Regions from separate parts of the Homo sapiens genome. Here region 2 is linked to region 1. The links are contacts of gene promoters, found by promoter capture Hi-C in blood cells and fetal thymus (Javierre and others, 2016). All regions are on one chromosome and are shown on one strand. The core of a region is centred on a gene start or on the middle of the fragment in contact, and the rest is flanking DNA. Distances in the headings are between cores, read along the strand shown. Region 1 holds the start of SLC39A2 (solute carrier family 39 member 2). Region 2 holds the start of OR5AU1 (olfactory receptor family 5 subfamily AU member 1).

Region 1 (6,408 bases), core at 1,549-4,048:
CTGGCTCATTTTCTCAACTACAGTGGGTAAGGTGGGAGGGGAATTTTAGCAAGGTGCCATGTCTAGGGGTGTGGCTGCAACTGACAGGATGGCTAGGAGCCCTAATTCCAGAATAAAATACTGCATTCAACACTCATCCTTCCCATTCCCCATTCCACCACTTCCTGTGCCAGGTAGCATCTAGGCAACCAGGAGAAATGAAATCCAGAATGGCTGAAGGAGGGTAAAATGGGCATTTTATTACACACAGTAGCATAAATGGGATAAGAATAAAATCTGGAGCGTCTCTGTACCAATTCTCCAATTAATAGCTGCTCAACCTAAATATCTTTGTCTTAGTCCAGGGTGAGAAATGGGATCTCATGTAAAGGAAACCTGGGGTCCAGTCCAGTCCTACTGAATGCTATTTAGTCTGAGTAAAGAAATGTCTGAGGGTCAAAGCCATTTGGGAGGTCTCCCTGGGGATAGAGAGGTTGTCCTAAATAGGTCCATCAGAAAAGCCAGGAATCTCTCAGGCCCACAAGGCAATAAAGGCCATGAAGGCAAAACCAGCGGCTACACAGCTCCACTTAGCTAGAGGGGCCTCAGGACTAGCTAGCTCCCGTGGAAGAATTTCTAGGAAGGTGACATACAGGAAGGTACCAGCTGCCACACCCTCTAACACAGCCTGGGCTAAGCCCCGCCCTCCTTCAGAGTCCCCTCCAGTCACAGCCAGCCCTACGGCTAGGCCCAGGGGGGACATGAGAGCTAATAATAGTATGGAGAACACTGCCCATCGTGAGCTGGTACCTAAATGCACTAGCCGCATTCCTACACCAAACACCACAAGCCCCTTATGAGCCAGGACAGCAAGGCAGAGCTGCACGGTAGCTGCTACTGTCGGCTGCAGCCCCACAGCTAGCCCTTCAAACACTGAGTGAAAGGAGAGTGACAGCAAGAGGACAAGGGCTCGGAGGGGACCCTTTGAGGGTGAGGGTAAATGTCCATGGCTGTGGAGTTCGAAGATATGAGCCCCACCCCATTCTTCGTCCTGCACTGTCGATCCTCCAGCAGCCCCAGGACAGCACTGCAATGCCAGCGACTCCAAAAAGAAGACAAAAAAGAAGCCCAGGGAGATGATGAGCTCTCCATAGGGATACTCCATCTAGAAACAAAAAGAAGGGCTGTGAGATGGAAAGGAAGGGTAGGCAATACATTGGATGGACATGGAATTGGGAGATTGAAGAGAATGAGAAAATGTGGTAACAGAACACAAAAAAGGGTAGGGGAAATGAAGCCAAGAGTAGACATGGCCATGCAACAACAAGAATGCCAGAGTGGGCCGGACACAGTGGCTCATGCCTGTAATCCTAGCACTTTGGGAGACTGAAGTGGGCAGATCACTTGAGGTCAGGAGATTGAGACCAGCCTGGCCAACATGATGAAACCCCGTCTCTACTAAAAATACAAAAACTAGCCAGGTGTGGTGGCACGTGCCTGTAATCCCAGCTACTCAGGAGGCTGAGGCAGGAAAATCACTAGAACTCGGAAGGCAGAGGTTGCAGTGAGCCGAGATTGTGCCACTGTACTCCAGTCTGGGCGACAGAGAGATTTCATCTCAACAAACAAACGAAAAACAACAACAACAAAAGACTGCCAGAGGGGCTAAGGGACAGAATCTCAATAGAGTTAAAAACATGGGCAAATGATGTGAGGTATATCAGAGGATCCAGGGAAAGAATGAAAGAGTAAAACAAGGGCTTTCCCTGGCATTCTATAAACTCAAAAGGATTGGATTTGCTCCTCTTTTCCTCTACGATGTCTGAGCTAGGGAGCAGAAGGGATTCTTGGTACTCCTCATGTATTCCTCTCAAAAGGGTCTGGATATGAAAGGCCTCTCTGGTTCTCCTCACTCTCCAGATAGGGGATGGTGGGAGGTACTTACATGAGCTGAATCAGCATCACCAGAAGAATTTCTCTCACTTGCTGATCTGTTCTAAGAAGAAAGCAGCAGAAATTAGATGTGGGATGGAGCAGCACAGCTTCCTGTGCTGTCCCTTCAGCAATTCTGTTTTCCTTAAAGCCTAATCTGACTTGCTTTCACCATCCCACACAAGAGCTGTCATTTTCCTTGTCGTTCCACCCATGTCCTTGGCTCCATCACTTTCCCGCTCTCTTCCCTTTGTCCTGTTTATCATTTTGGCCTCATAGACCTGCGGCTTGAAATCTCTGCTCTCACCTGCACCATGAACTTCTGAATCTGTGATTCAATTTCCTCCAGGGCTTCAGCAGTCATATGCATGAACCCTGCTCCCAGGAAAACACCAGCAGAAATACAGCCCAGGAGTCTGAGGACTAGCCGGTGATGACCTAATAAAAAGCAGAAGTTACAACCCACTTGACACTGAGGAGACAGACAAAGGTGAGTAAAGAGCAGCAGGCAGCACTCAATATCCCAAGGTTGGGGATGGTGAGAGAATCAGAGCAAGGTATCAGGACAGGGTTGAGGTGAGACTCAGGCTATGGAACAAAGATGGGGTAGGGCTATACCTCTGGCTGCATCAATCTGGAACCATTTGAAGCAGATGGGAGTAAGGCCACAGCCCAGAGTGAGAGCCAACAGGGCAAACAGGCAGCCAAGTTTTATTCCTAGTAGTTGCTCCATCTCTGGGGTGTAGGGTAAGCCCAGGAGTCAGAATGACAAGGGAGCTGTAATCTTTGGAGCAGGAGTGGTATCTTAGGTGGTCAACACTGGAGTGTCCACTCTCGTGAGTTTCAGGAGGCTGTTGGTATCTTCTTTCTGTGTTGCTTCTGCTTCTGCAGCATTGCAGAGCTGACAGATCCTGCCCCAGCTTCTAGCCCTCCCCCTGCATGGAGGCCCCTCCCCTGGTTCACGCCTTCCTGAGCTTGGAAACCAGAAACTCCAGACTCCCTGCCAGGCACAGCCCAGTGGCGTCTTCTCCTCCTCTTCAATGGCATGACTAATCCAAGAGCTACGGATAGTCTTAGTTCATGTGCTTGGGGTTGGTCTAATCCAAAATAGGAAAGTCTATGGTAGCTGCTTCCCAGCTATTTTGTACTGGGGACAATCTGGTCCTGTCTCACTCAGGACGTTTGATCTAAGCCTTCCATACCCTCTCCACCTCATCCCAAGTCTTATAGGTTGCAATGCTGATACTTGAACCACCCGCTTTCAGAGATTTGGGGCCACCTGGAGGTAAAGAGGTGGGGCTGAGAGGTGGTGCTGGTGCTACTCTGTGGGAACTAGTACCCACATGAGGGAACTACCCTTTCCTGTAACCCCAGAAAAATAGCTCCAGGCATGGAAATGTCTAGTGGTAAGTTGATTTGTTTTTTTTCTTTCTCTTTTGATTGGGATCAGTTTTGAGAGGAATGAGTTGAGATGTCTGGTATTACAACATTTATACTGTTACAACTTCTAACTGTGCCTGTTTCCTGGTAAGAACTGTGGAAAAAAAGACATTTAAGGTTTAAGACAAAGGAAGCTGCTCTAGCCCTGAAACAGCAAGGCTTAGGGGAAAACAGAAATGAACTGAGTGAATGGGAGGATTCTACCTGGATATAGAGAGGTGGGGGTAGAAGATTCAGTTCTGATGGGAATCACTCTTGATGGAAATGTCTGGGGCATTTCCCATACATACTCTAGGGTAGCTGAGGGACCCTGGGAAAGACAGAAGGGAAGGCGTTAGTACAAGAGGCCAGGCAGCTGCTGATTCCCCTATTCAGGTGGCCCACATAACAACCCTGAGACCTGTTGAGCCAGTTCTCAGAGCTCTGGAGGCAGCTTTCCTTGCTACTCCAGATTATTTTCCTAGGGAAGTCCTGGCCTCTGGTAGAAGCAGTATTCTTACAGTGTTACTGGATGATTCTTACAGTGTTACTGGTCCTGCTGCTTGTTCTTGTGGTCCGGTAATGAGATGCAGACAGACAGACTGGGAAAGACGGGAGTTTATTTCTGCAACTGATTACAGGGAGGTCGGAGTAGCACACCAGACCAACTCAAAGTTACAAGCTTTTCTTTAGCTTTTATATACAATTCAAGCTCTATGACTACCTGCGGGAATGTTTCCTAATTAATCTAAACTAGGGGTCTGCAGGTAGAAGTTTTTTTTTTGTTTTTTAGAAACAAAGCAATAAACGATTTGATTTAGAAATAAAACCATTCCCATTATTGCAGCATTATCATCAGTCACTGATTGCTAATGCTGTTTACGCTTCTTTTTCCCTGGGATGTCTGAACCTGGCAACTTTTCTTCCTGTTCTTCTATTTTCTTAGCAAACCCACATCAAGGGTGTCTGTTCGCGTTTGAAATTCATCGGCACCAGAAAGAGCTAACATGTTGGCAGTATCTAGAAAACCATCAACATGAGCATGGGACAGTTCGCTTTGCAGCTGATCCCACCATAGTGAGTGAGTACTTGCAGACAGAAGTTTCTTAATCTTAAGTTGGTCCTGGGATGGGTTGTATGTGCAGGAATGCTTTTATCACTCAGCTAGATCTGAGGTAGAGAAAGTATAGGTGGGGCTTTAAAGGGCTTGCTTTTTTTGTATTCTGGCTTTCGTACTCAGGCACCAGTTTCCCCCGATTCCTTATCCATTTTTCTTGCTTCTGCTTTAATGTTTAACTTGTACATTCATCATTATAGCAAAGGGCTTATGGAAATCTGGTTTTTCTACTTCTGCTTTAATGATCAGCTTACACATTCATCATTACAGCGAAGAGCTTATGGAGCTCTGAACTGCCACAATAGGAGAGGGCGAGCTTGAGATTTGTGTGGGAAGCCTGGCACCAAAAATCTGAGGAAGCTCTTCATTACAGGATAGGCCAGGATAATTAACTATACCTTTTACATGTTTTTTTTTTTTTTTTTTTTTTAAGGGAGGACGTCTTGCTCTGTTACCTATGCTGAAGTGCAGTGTTACAATCAAAGTTCACTGTAGCCTTAACACCTGGGCTCAAGTGATCCTCTTGCCTCAGCTTCCTGAGTGGCTGGAAATGCAGACACATGCCACCGTGCCCAGCTTCTACACTTTTTAAGAATCACAAAATCCACTTCCATTCTTCAAAAATTTATTATTTATTATTAAAAATCTCAAACAAACACAGACATATGGGGATACCAGCATTCCCCTCCTGGATACCAGGCAGCTTCAGCCCTGGCAGGCACGATAGAAGAAAATACTTGTTACACATCCTCATCAACTCTCAGAGGGATCCTGAGCCGTAGATGGAGGAAACGCAGACGGAGTAAGCACAGGTAAAAGATCTCCCCAGGAGCTGACACGGGCACAACGATACAAATCCCTGTGGAAACAGATGCTGGCGTGGGCTGCAGCTTCCTGCCACATCCCACTGATTTTGGTCACACCCCCCATACCTGCCGTGCCGGCGGGCTGTGAGCACAGCATGCTGCATGTGCCCATCTGGACAGCACAAGTGACAATGCACATGGCGAGGCCGTTTAAGGACAGGCTGAGTGATACGGGGCCAGCGATGAGCCTCCTCTGGAGACCCCCGAGCAAGGATCACCATAGAGAACTTTTCTTCCTTTGGTTTCTTGTTCTAAGATAAGGAACATAGAGACTGTTTAGAAGAAAAAGATATGGGAAAAAAGTTTGTACAGTCCCTTCTTCCCCATTCCTGCAGTCCTTTTTTACAATGTATAAATCATATACATGTAGGCCCTAAAGTCTCCAGGCTATTCTACAAATTATCCAACTCCTCCTAACTCTGATTCTTTTTCTTCCTGTTTTTCCAGGATGTTTGCTTCCTGCTGCAATATCCCCAGGTACCTACCCAGCTGAAGGGGATGGGATGGTACGCCTGTGAGAAGCTACAGGCCAGGTTGGTCAACTGGGGACAAGGGAGTTCATGGGGACACTGTGAACACATAAAAAAATGAGGTAAGACAAAAGAGCCATCAATCACAAAACTTAAAAACTGAGAATAATAGAGTCAAAAGGGGCCAGGGAGAAGGGAGGACAGGAGCAGTGGGTAGGAAGAGCCAGGGGAATCATTAGGTAGGAACTGGATAGGAACACAAAGTAGTGGAGAGTGGCTTAGCTTTACCATCTTACATTTCCCGGCCACGCCTAAGTTCAGATCCGTGTGGTGGGACAGGCAGAAGTAATACTCACCGGGGCAAAGACAAAACCAGGTCGAGGGTCCAAAGGTGACTTCTCTTTTCCCTGAAATCAAAGGAAATAAAAGAAATAAAGCTGGGCCAAGGGTCTATTTTCATAATTCAATCTCTGCACTCAGTAAACTGAGGACTCCTTTAACACTCAATTCTAATAACGATTGACTATGTCCTTTGAATTAAGCTGGCTGCATCTTTAATACTCCAAACAAAGAACTTTCTCTTTGCTGCAGGAGAAAGGCAAGAACTTGGCACATAGTACGGTGC
Region 2 (6,408 bases), core at 1,112-3,611, 160 kb before region 1:
AAGAGCATGTCCAGGATGACCATCCTACCCACAGGCTGATTTCCCAGGACACGGACAAATCCAGCAAGCTAGGAAGAGATACGTATATGTGGCTCAGGAAGATCTGTTTGCTCCTGCAAGTACCCCATGGTTTAGTGTTTCTCAGAGTGAGGTTCAGAGACCTCCTGTCTCAGTCAGAATCACCAGACTTTGGGGCCAAGCTATAGACCTATTGGATCAAATTTTCTGTGGGTTGGGACCTGGAATCTGCACATGTAACAAGCTTCTCCTGTGAACCTTGGGCAAGGCAGCTTACTGTTTAAGAACCATTGTTTGGGATCACTGTTGCTCAGGGAATCTCACTGGCTGCTTTTCTTGGCTGCCTGCCCTTCATATCCACATGTGCTCTCACTGTGCTATCCCAGGGATGGGGGCAATGAGTCGGGTATAAACAGAGCTTCTTTCCTATGCCTCCCTCATCCACAGGCCCCAGGCATTTGCTCTCACTCTTATGCACTCCACTCCATAATCCACTCCCATATGATAAGATCATCTTTAAGTTTTCCTCCTACATTTCATTCACAGGTACAAACAATAGCCAATAGAAATAGTGGTAATTCCAGCATCCTTTGAACAACTGTCAGAGATGCCAATTTCTCCATAATCCTTTCCTTGAGTCACTCTATATTCTTAAGAATTTTGAATTTAGTGCAGATTGGTGAAGAGAGATGAAAGAGGAGAGGGGAGCAGAAGAGAGAGTGTGGGTTTAAAGTAAATGATAAATCTGGAGGCTCTGATCAGCTATCCACTGTATTACCCACCACCCTACCCCATCCCATCCCACCACTCCACCCCAGTGTATGCTTCCTGCCTCATCCATACTGTCTGGAGCATTGCACATATTTCTATTTTTCTCTTCTTTTGTTCTTTTAATCAGAGAGATACTTGCAGACCTATTACCTAAATTGAAACAGCCCACCAAGGAAAGAAGATGGGAAGCTGGGTCTGAAAATTCTACTCCACTCCTAATGACCACCTTTCTATTTTCTTAAAGTGCCTGCAAGTTATTTCCACTCTGGGAGTTTTACAGTCATTTATCTGAATTCCTCTAATTTGCCTTGAAGTCGAATTGGCCTTTGTCACCAATGGCGCCAAAGACATTTGCAACCCAAATCTAGGACTGCCCACATTCTACAATAGTGAGATTTATTATAAAATGACAGCTGTTAGAGTAAGGATAGCTGAATGTTACATCTAAGTGACATGAAATAAGTCACAGAATTGCATTCCATGAGTTCTAAAAGCAGTTGCTAATGTTCTGTGTTCAAATTTGCACTTATATTTTGTGTCTCAATTTTATTAGGGCATGTTACCTCTTTGGGCATTTCTAAAAGCCTTTTTCTTGTCACCAGTCACAGTATTCTATCAACACAAATGGTGCCTCATTCCCTGCCTGACAACTAAATTTAGTTATACATATGTCCAGAATCTTCTCCTGCCCAGGTAGTTTGATGATTCTGGAAATTATGTCATTGGAATTCGTCAGAATGTTTGCTTGCTCAATCCAGCTCTTTCCTCTCCAAATTCTCCCAACACTTTTCACAGGTGTGTTATTCGCTTACTCTCCTCAGGGCAGGATGAGGCAGCTCACTTTTGCCCCTTTTTGTCCTACTCAGCCACATCTGTTAGCTTCAAAGTCTTTGTAACTGAGAGTCTTCACCCAAGAGCACAGGGTGCTTAACTGGCTCAGCACCCAGAGGTAACTTGGGAAGACACGTGGTAGAGGAGCCAATGGAACAGAGGAGAGTGTGGTGTTTAGGTGATGCATTCAAGCTTTGTTCACTCTCTAAATAGAAAAGGCATTTTCACAAAGACTCACTCACTTCGTTCCTTTCCTACTGGCCATAACATCCTCTGAGTCCAGGGTGATTTTGTTCTCTGGAAATGATGGGCAGCTTTATGGATGATGAGGAGACTCTCCCGTTGGTGGAGGCTCCCACATGCAGTCTTACACTACCTCCATCTCTCCACACTCTCAGCCCTTGTTACCTTAAGTATTCACATTATTGCCTGGGTAGTGCTGATTTCACAGGGCCAGTTTTATAGCTGACCCATCAGCCATCTACAGCCTCTCTGAAAGCCTGTTTAGTCACGCTTGCATAGCACGTGTGTCTCTGTCTATACTGTTAGGTGGTAGGTTGCTTGCTAAGCTTTGTTGTGGGTTCATCTCATTTATCATGTTTATTTAGGTTTTGGATCTATCTTCTTAGTGAGCATGCTCATAGCTAACCTTCTTTGAACTTCCTCAACGTGCTGGAATTTGTTCAACTTCTCTGCATGAAATAACTCATTGAATTTTTATAATAATCTTTATAGACAGTTGCTATTATCCCTATTTCACAGATGGAAAAATGGAAACTCAGAAAGGTAAAGTAACATTCCCAAGATTACACAGCTAGTTAATGGCAAAGTCCTAACTTTGAACCTTAGCAGTCTGATACCACAGTATGTGTGGCTTAAACACAAAATATACTGTCTGTAGAATATAAGCTTCCCAAGGTCAGGCACTCTTGAATTCCTGATAGGGAGAACACAGAGCTAAGCAAATGGAAAACTATGAATATATACTTGGTGAGTGACTGTTTCATTACTTAGAATTTTTAAGATCCCCAAGACCAATTGTAGATATTTCTCTTATATTTTCCATTGCTGCTTAAGTAATGCTTACCAACTAACCAACCAACCAAGGAGAAAAGATCCTCTCTATGACAGAGTTTCATCTGCAAAGCCAAATGCCCTCAATAAGACTCATCTTCAGAAGGCTGTCCTTAGGCAGAATTAAACCCAGTCAGAGCCCCAGGTGTTCAACCTCATTTATGGTGGTGCCTTCTTTCTCCATCGCAGAGCACTGGAGAAGGATGAAAGGGGCAAACCTGAGCCAAGGGATGGAGTTTGAGCTCTTGGGCCTCACCACTGACCCCCAGCTCCAGAGGCTGCTCTTCGTGGTGTTCCTGGGCATGTACACAGCCACTCTGCTGGGGAACCTGGTCATGTTCCTCCTGATCCATGTGAGTGCCACCCTGCACACACCCATGTACTCCCTCCTGAAGAGCCTCTCCTTCTTGGATTTCTGCTACTCCTCCACGGTTGTGCCCCAGACCCTGGTGAACTTCTTGGCCAAGAGGAAAGTGATCTCTTATTTTGGCTGCATGACTCAGATGTTCTTCTATGCGGGTTTTGCCACCAGTGAGTGCTATCTCATCGCTGCCATGGCCTATGACCGCTATGCCGCTATTTGTAACCCCCTGCTCTACTCAACCATCATGTCTCCTGAGGTCTGTGCCTCGCTGATTGTGGGCTCCTACAGTGCAGGATTCCTCAATTCTCTTATCCACACTGGCTGTATCTTTAGTCTGAAATTCTGCGGTGCTCATGTCGTCACTCACTTCTTCTGTGATGGGCCACCCATCCTGTCCTTGTCTTGTGTAGACACCTCACTGTGTGAGATCCTGCTCTTCATTTTTGCTGGTTTCAACCTTTTGAGCTGCACCCTCACCATCTTGATCTCCTACTTCTTAATTCTCAACACCATCCTGAAAATGAGCTCGGCCCAGGGCAGGTTTAAGGCATTTTCCACCTGTGCATCCCACCTCACTGCCATCTGCCTCTTCTTTGGCACAACACTTTTTATGTACCTGCGCCCCAGGTCCAGCTACTCCTTGACCCAGGACCGCACAGTTGCTGTCATCTACACAGTGGTGATCCCAGTGCTGAACCCCCTCATGTACTCTTTGAGAAACAAGGATGTGAAGAAAGCTTTAATAAAGGTTTGGGGTAGGAAAACAATGGAATGATTTCTCAATGCATTACCACATATCTTTAGAAAGTCAAGGGAACTTTTACCTTAGGTGGTGTCACCCTGAGCACATTCCCATGCCCACCCCTGTGAATATTGGGCATGCCCTCTGGTCTGCAGGTGCTTCTGCATCTACCTGCCACAGAAGAAATGATGGTGTCCTAGAGACTAAGAAGTGAGAAGGGTGTGTCTGCTTGTTGCATAATTCAACCTGTTGGCAAGATTTAGTAATCCATGTTGAGATGCTTCATTCATTTTTCCCAGTTAGTGTATTTCCTTTCCTTTCCCACCCTCCCTCCCTCCCTCCCCACCTCCCTTTCTTCCTTCCTTCCTTCCTTCTTTCCTTCTTTCCTTTCTCTCTCTCTCTGTCTCTCTCTCTCTCTCCACCCCCGAGGCTGGAGCACAGTGGCATGAACATTGCTCATTGCAGCCTCAACCTCCTGGCCTCAAGCGATCCTCCTGCCTCAGCCTCCTGAGTAGCTGGGACTACAGGTGCATGCCACCACACCTGGCTAAATTCCTGATAGGGAGAACACAGAGCTAAGCAAATGGAAAACTATGAATATATATTTGGTGAGTGACTGTTTCATTACTTAGAATTTTTAAGATCCCCAAGACCAAATTGTGGATATTGCTCTTATATTTTCCATTGCTGCTCAGGTAATGCTTGTCAGCTAACCAACCAGCCAACCAAGGAGAGAAGACCCTCTCTATGACAGAGTTTCATCTACAAAGCCAAATGCCCTAAATAAGACTCATCTTCAGAGGGCTATTTTTAATTTCTGTAGAGATGGGGTCTCCCTATGTTGCCCAGGCTGGTCTTGCACTCTTGAGCTCAAGTGATTCTCCCACCTTGGCCTCCCGAAGTGCTGGGTTTACAGGCATGAGCCACCATGCTGGCCTGTCATTCTTCTTCTTTTTCTTCTTCTTCTTTTTTTTTTTGAGGCAGAGTTTTGCTCTTGTTGCCCAGGTTGGAGTGCAATGGTGTGATCTCGGCTCACCACAACCTCTGCCTCCCAGGTTCAAGCGATTCTCCTGCCTCAGCCTCCCAAGTAGCTGGGACTACAGGTATGAGCCACCATGTCTGGCTAATTTTGTATTTTTAGTAGAGATGGGGTTTCTCCATGTTGGTCAGGCTGGTCTTGAACTCCTGACCTCAGGTGATCTGCCCACTTCGGCCTCCCAAAATGCAGGGATTACAGGCATGAGCCACCGCACTGGCTGTCTTCTTTTTAAATATAGGCATTTAAGACAAATTTTTTCAAATTCTATTTAGCCTGCATCCCATATGTTTTGAAATATGGTGTTTTTAGTATTAAGTTCTGTGTATATTCTAATTTTTATTATCATTTATTCTTTAATCCATGAGTGGATTTTTTTAAAATTTCCTAATATCTGGGCATTTATGAAAAATCTACACCCAACATTATACTTACTAGTGAAATAATGCTTTCCCCTTAAGATTTGAAGCAAGGCAAGTTTTCTGCTATTGCCATCTCTATTTAAAATTGTTCTGAAGATTGTAGCAAGTACATTAAAACAAACAAAGCATCTAGATTGGAAAGGGAGAAGAAAAATTGAGTTTATTTGTAGATAACATGATCCTGAATATAGAAAGTTCCAAGTAATCTATTAAAAAACTCCACTGGAACTAATAACCAAGTTCAGTAAAATTACAGCATATAAAAAATATAGAAAAATTAATTATATTTTTATATATTGGCAAGAAACAATCCAAAAATGAAATTAAGAAAACAATTCTTTCACAAAAATGTTGTCATTTCCATATACTGGAAATCATAAAACGTTCCTGAGAAAAGTTAGAGAAGATCTAAATAAATGGAGAGACCTTCAATATTCATGGATTGGAATAATCAATATCATTAACATGGCAATACTTCCCAAACTGTTCTATAGATTCAATATAATCCTTAGGAAAATCTCAGAGGCTGTATCTTAAAAATTTGACTAGTTGGTCCTAAGATGTATATGCAAATACAAATAAACCAGAATACCTAAACAATTTTAAAAAGAAGGAGAGGTTGGGCTTGGTGGCTCACGCTTGTAATCCCAGAACTTTGGGAGGCCAAGACAGGTGGATTGCTTGAGGCTAGGAACTTGAGACCAGCCTGGGCAAGATGGAAAAAACCCCATCTCTACTGAAAATACAAAAATTAGCCGGTTGTGGTGGTGCACGCCTTTAATCCCAGCTACTCCGGAGGCTGAGGTGGGAGGATCACATGAGCCTGGGAAGTCGAGGCCTCAGTGAGCCGTGATTGTGCCACTGGACTCCAGCCTGGACAACAGGGCAAGATCCTGTCTTAAAAATAAAAATTTAAAAACATTGACTAAGTTGGAAGAATACAGACCCAATTTTAAAACTTTCCATACTGCTATAATTACCAAAATAATGGGGGTAGTGGCGTAAGGATGAGTATTTAGGGTAATGGAACATAATTGAGAATCAAGAAATAATCCCTTGGATTATGCTCAATTGACTTATCTGAAAAAAAAACTGACAAAAGTATAAAAGGCCTGTATATTTAAAACAACAAAATACTGTTTAAAGATAT

What was found. Contacts are between HindIII fragments. The CHiCAGO score rates a contact against its expected background, and 5 or more counts as called.
Region 2: a fragment that was not itself captured here is called in contact with the fragment with the promoter of SLC39A2 in region 1 in 1 of 17 cell types (M2 macrophages); the score reaches 5.9 in M2 macrophages.

Annotation. Positions count from the first base shown.
Region 1 is chr14:20,995,683-21,002,090 of GRCh38, reverse strand. SLC39A2 (solute carrier family 39 member 2) reads right to left here and starts at 2,798. Exons shown (of 4, transcript NM_014579.4): 1 at 2,530-2,798; 2 at 2,219-2,349; 3 at 1,925-1,975; 4 at 220-1,144. The coding sequence starts at 2,644. The coding sequence ends at 512. LOC101929718 (a long non-coding RNA gene) reads left to right here and starts at 2,928. Exons shown (of 4, transcript NR_110139.1): 1 at 2,928-3,317; 2 at 4,277-4,411; 3 at 4,881-5,259; 4 at 5,761-6,254. METTL17 (methyltransferase like 17) reads right to left here. Exons shown (of 14, transcript NM_022734.3): 11 at 6,140-6,190; 12 at 5,799-5,882; 13 at 5,380-5,564; 14 at 5,056-5,306. The coding sequence ends at 5,201. RefSeq lists enhancers at 1,540-2,739, 4,763-5,962. The HindIII fragment of the contact is 5,548 bases long and covers 1-4,014 here.
Region 2 is chr14:21,152,362-21,158,769 of GRCh38, reverse strand. OR5AU1 (olfactory receptor family 5 subfamily AU member 1) reads left to right here and starts at 2,707. Exons shown (of 1, transcript NM_001004731.3): 1 at 2,707-3,905. The coding sequence starts at 2,898. The coding sequence ends at 3,833. The HindIII fragment of the contact is 340 bases long and covers 2,192-2,531 here.